2 separate regions of the Homo sapiens genome follow, and region 1 is linked to region 2. Evidence: promoter capture Hi-C in human tissues and cell types (Jung and others, 2019). All regions are on one chromosome and are shown on one strand. Each heading gives the region's core, a stretch centred on a gene start or on the middle of the fragment in contact. The rest is flanking DNA. Distances are from core to core; before and after follow the strand shown.

The links. The method cuts DNA at HindIII sites, captures the fragments that hold promoters and counts their contacts. A contact is called where the count stands out against the background at its distance.
Region 1: a contact is called between a fragment that was not itself captured here and the fragment with the promoter of SLC25A37 in region 2, in 1 of the 25 tissues and cell types used here (aorta).

What each region holds. Positions count from the first base shown.
Region 1 is chr8:23,251,488-23,254,222 of GRCh38, reverse strand. All of the region lies in intron 3 of CHMP7 (charged multivesicular body protein 7), which reads right to left. Among named protein-coding and RNA genes, the nearest start is that of CHMP7, 9.2 kb to the right of the region's middle. The HindIII fragment of the contact is 4,740 bases long and covers 1-2,735 here.
Region 2 is chr8:23,527,659-23,530,358 of GRCh38, reverse strand. SLC25A37 (solute carrier family 25 member 37) reads right to left here and starts at 1,403. Exons shown (of 4, transcript NM_016612.4): 1 at 1,147-1,403. The coding sequence starts at 1,356. RefSeq lists enhancers at 300-369, 1,660-1,709 and silencers at 870-1,119, 1,170-1,529. The HindIII fragment of the contact is 14,130 bases long and covers 1-2,700 here.

The DNA of each region.
Region 1 (2,735 bases), core at 76-2,575, 280 kb after region 2:
TGCCTGGGGATTCAGGATTTCTTGAAAAAAAAAAAAAGTTGAGCAGAATTCTGAAGAGTGAGCAAGTTCCTAGGTGAAGAGGTGAAACGGGTATCTCGGGAAGAGAGAGGAACATGAGCATAGAAGGGTGGGTCAATGCGGCACGTGTACAAATGTAGAGGGGAAAGGAGAGAGAGGAGAAGCACTCCTATATTATAGAAAGTGTAATATCCTATATTATAGAAAGTGTAATATCTTATGATGATCCTTTATTCTGTAGATGGTGGGTGGTCACTGAAGGAAACTGACATGGCTAGATTAACAGAAAGCTAACTGCCAATTGGGAGACGATGGATTGTAGAGTTAAGATTAGAGGCAAGGAGACCATTTACACAAGAGATTATGTGGGTCTGAACAACAGGCTATTTGAATAATAAACATAGAAAGAGGAGTGGTGGAGACAAACAAAATTCAGAAGATAACACTGGTAACTGGATATAGGGTTGGAAGAAAAAGTCTAGTGGAAAGTCACTATGGATTGAGTGACTGGTGGATGTGATGCTATTAATAGGAAAAAATTCAGGAGGAAAAGCCTAGTTTAAAGTAAAGACAAAATATCCCATCTTGGTTATGATGTTTTAAGATGTCTGAGAGAAGCCAGGCACGGTGTGCCTCACGCCTCTAATCCCAGCACTTTATGAGGCCGAGGTGGGTGGATCACCTGAGATCAGGAGTTTGAGACCAGCCTGGCCAACAGGGTGAAACCCCATCTCCACTAAAAAAAATACAAAAAATTAGCTGGCCATGGTGGCAGCGCCTGTGATCCCAGCTACTTGAGAGGCTGAGGCAGGAGAATTGCTTGAACCCAGGAGGCGGAGGTTGCACTGAGCCAACATTGTGCCACTGCACTACAGCCTGGGCAACAGAGTGAGACTCTGTCTATAAATAAATACATAAATAAGATGTCTGAGCTATATCCAAGATTATGTATACAACCTATCAGTGGATATACAAATCTGAAACTCAAAGGAGACAGCAGGACAGCGATACAATGTTGAAAGTCCTCAGCATATCCACAGCAAAGATCCCAAGGACATTCAGGGAGGAAAGTAATAAGCTGAAGGAAGACCACTGTTTAGGAAGTGAAGGAAGCCACAAAAGAGAGACAGAAGGACTGCTTTGGGGGAATCAAGGAGAACTTGCAGCGTCATGTAAACAAATTCAAGGAAATTGGACATTTCAAGAAGTGACTCGTCAACAGTGCCAAAGGGTAGAAAAGAGCCTAATAAGACACAGACATCGAGTTTTCATTGATTTGACTGCCCTACCAGATATGCAACCACTGCAGTAACTGCACAGTAACCACACACAAATAAATTAATGTTACACGACATCAAGAAAAGATACTGAGACAACTGGCTATCCATTTGGAAGAAAATAGAGCTTTCCCCACCACATACACAAAAATAAGTATTGAAGGAAATGTAAACGGAAAAAATTAAAGTACAAAGTAATAAGTTAAGCTTGAGTCAGAAGATGCCTTCCTAAACAAGACCTGAAATTCAATAGCCATACAGAAAAGTCTGAGAGATCTGACTACAGAAATATGAAACCTTCTATAGGGTAAAAGACATCATAAATAAAAAGTAAGCAAGCAACAGACTGAGAAACAATATTTACATCCTTAATACTAAATACATTATATATATCTATCTCTAACACATAAAGAATACAGATTAACATAAAAGATAACACAATAAGGCCAGGCGCGGTGGCTCACACCTGTAATCCCAGCACTTTGGGAGGCCAAGGCGGGTGGATCACGAGGTCAGGAGATCGAGACCATCCTGGCTAACATGGTGAAACCCAATCTCTACTAAAAATACAAAAAATTAGCCGGGCGTGGTGGCGGCACCTGTAGTCCCAACTGCTCGGAAGGCTGAAGCAGGAGAATGGCGTGAACCCGAAAGGCGGAGCTTGCAGTGAGCGGAGATCGTGCCACTGCACTCCAGCCTGGGTGACAAACTCCATCTCAAAAAAAAAAAAAAGATAACACAATACAAAACAGGAAAGGATATAAACAGACAATTCACAGAAGGAGATATGTAAATGGCTAGTACATAGGTGAAAAAAATGCTCAATTCACAAACAGGACGTATCATTTTTTTTTTCCCAATAAGTTGGTAAGATTTAAAAGACTGATGTCATCCCGTGCTGACAAGGATGTGGGGAGACTGGACTCCCTAATACAGTCTTGATGAAAGTGCAACTTATTACAAACTTTTGAAAAGTAGTTTGGCAATTTTTGTTAAAATTGAAAAGGCACATATGCATTTCCGAAAAATCAATTCCATAAAAATAAAGGGAGAAGTACATAGATCTCTGCACAAGTGGCATTTTTTTGTAATGGAAAAATGGAGAGAGAAATTGGAATGATTGAAATGTCCATCTGCGGAGCACCTGTTGCATAAATTGTGGCATATCGATAGATTATCATGCAGGCATCAAAAAGAATCGAGTAAATCCATACTGTGTAGGGCCTGGAAAGAGGCACCTGATACAATGCAATGGAAAGAAAACAAAGCAGGGTGCACACCAATTCCATTTCTAGAAAAAAATGGAGTGATGTGTACACGTGTCTGTGCGTGTGTATTCACTCACTCAACAGGTATTTATTGACTGTCTACCAGGTATCAGGCACTGCTCCCAGGGTCCCAGGGCCCATGGCACTGTTCCCTTCTAGTAGGAAAGACAGA
Region 2 (2,700 bases), core at 154-2,653:
CTGCTGGGGGTGCCTCTGTGGGACCTGCCTTGCAAAATAATTGCCACCTAGAGAGGCCTCCGAATCCTCCAAAGCACACTGCAGCTGCAGCCAGAGGATAGGAGGTGGTGTAGGAGCCTGGGCAAGGTAATCGGTTCGCCTCTCTGCGCCTCAGTTTCTTCATCTGTTAACCCCCAGGGCTGTTGCATGAATTAGGCGAGTTATGCCTATAAAAGTGCAACGTGTAACAGTCAATACTGGCATTACTTCCTGCACTACTCTATCCTGGCCCTGGGGTGTTCTGGGCAGGCTGACAGAGGGCAGGTCTCAGTCTACCAGGCAAAACGCACCTAGTAACGCTGCCTCTTTACAGAAATGCAGTTAAAACTACCGGGGCAAGTGACAGACAGGGTTTAAAGGAAACTGAGTGCCTCTCACACAATCCACAGCAAGGGCTGTAAGGCACAAGCCCACCCACCTCCCCGCAAGCAAAAGGAGAAGGCAAACGTCATTGCCTCCCGGCGGCTCGGCGACCCAAAGTCGGGGGAAGAAGTGCAGGAACCCTCAGAAAGGGGATCCCACGGGCCGCTGTCGAACCGGTAAAGAGCTGCCACTAGTCGAGAGAAGACTTGCCGGCCCCAAGTTCCCGAAATAACCCGGGGAGCAGCAGCCACACACCAAGTCCCGAGGGCGCGCGGCCGGGCCAGGGCCACACGTTTCTCAGCTCCAGCGTGGTGAGGGCTTCCCCTGCGGGGAGCTCCCTCGGAAACCGCGCACGTGTGGGCGGCCCCAGCCAGCCCGAACGGCCAGCGTGGTAAGACTGTGCAGAGCTTCAGCGATCGCGTCCCCCGGGAGCCCAGTCGCCGCCGAAGCCAGCGGTGCTCGCCACTCCGCCTCCCCCGCCTCAGCGCCGCCAGCAGCCGGGGCCGGGCACGCGGCTGGAGCAGCGGGCGGTGCGGGGCGAGGACCGGGCACCCTCGCGGGGTCGGCGGAAGGCGCGGCGCCCAGGCTGCGCGCAGCTGCTCCTGGGGCGACCCCGGCCAGCCGCGGTCCTGGGGAGAGCTCGGTTTCGGGACGCTGCCCCGAGGCTGCCGGCGCGCGGGATGCAAATGCGCGCGCGCGCTCCTTCTCCGCTCGTTGCGTCCCCGAAGTCTCCCCGCGCCTCACCTTCACCGAGTCCACCGGGTACATGACCGAGTGCTCCAGGATCCCGGCCATCGCTCCTGCTGTCATGTGGGTGGACACGGAGGCGCTAGTCGGCAGGTTCTCGTAGTCCTCCGACCCGGTGGCGTCCTTGCCGCCGCCGCCATCTCGGCTGTCCCCATCCATCCTCCGCGCCACCGCCTGGCTGCCCACGCTCCCGCTGCGCAGCTCCATCCGCCAGCTCGGCGGGGCGCAGGAGGCTGCAGGAGGTGGGCAGGGAGGGGGAGGGGCGCAAAACTTCACTTCTTAAAGTGGGAGCCACCTCCCCGGGGCCGCGGCGCCTGACGCCATGGCGGGCTGGGGTGGAGCGCAGCGGCCAGAGACACCAATCGCCGGGAACCAAGAGGCCGGCGGCCGCCGCGCCATTGGTGTGCGGGACAGTGGGGACCCGCCTCCCTGTGTGACGTCACCGTCCCGTGCACATTTCCAAGCAACCGGACGGGGGCGAGAGGAGACGTGGGGTGGCCCGGAAAGTTGTACTATCTTGAGGATGGGCTGGTCCGCGAGGGGCAGGGGAGGTCATTGGGGAGGGGCCGCAGTGGGGTATGCCCAGAGCTGGAGGCATGGGTGACAGTGTCTCGGGGAAAATCCGTCCCCGTGGCGGGTGGGTTTGCAAACAGAATCGCTCAGTGAGCTTTGGCATTCCTAAGGCCTGAATTCAAACCTCAGGGGCCCGTTCTAGACTGCTTTGTTGGAGAGACCCCCATTCATTCGAAATTGTTTCTCTCAACCTAAATACATAATGCAGAGCTAAATGTGTTCCTCTTGTTCTCACCGAGAGACCGAACCCACCCTGCCCTGGACCGAGCAAGGCTATAAGGAGTGACCAGGAGGGAGCCCCTCTGAGTAGGCACCTCCAGGAAATTTTCTTTGGGTTTGATAGGCCCATAAGGTCTGTAGAGGCCTGATCTCACAGTTAGGAGTGTGAACTGGCTGAGAGTAAAATCTTACAGCCTTGCCCCTGCCTGTCTTAAGACTGTGGTCACCTAGTTCTTAAAGTCGTCCTAAGCTGGCCTCTTCAATAAAGTGTAACCCAGGCTGTTTTAATATTGTTTTGCTCCAGTCTGGGGAAAAAGGGAGAAATCAGAAAGTAGGGGAGGGACCTGTCTGCCTCTGGAAGTGTCCGTCTAAATTGCGTGTTCCAGGGCTTAAGATGACTTGGGCTGATCAACTTGTAGGCACCAGGGCCTCCCTGCCTTATCTAGACAAGGCTTCTCGTCAGGAAAGCTGGATCCTGAGATATGAAAGGGTGGGGAAGACCCTGAAGAGGCTGAGCCTACTCTCTGCCCTCACCGTGATCAGCATCCCAAGCAGCTCTTAGGGATTTGAGATACAGTAATGTGAGCATGGGTAGAGGTCAATAGAGGCGTCAGGACCAAGAGCACTGTTTGCCTAGTTTTGGTAGCTGCAGATAGTAGCTGGCAAGCTGAGTGCTAAGGATGTGATAAGTAAAAACAGGCTCTGTGTTTTTACTTAGCCATCTCTGTAATGGCTAGAGAAAACTCTACTTTTGTCAAA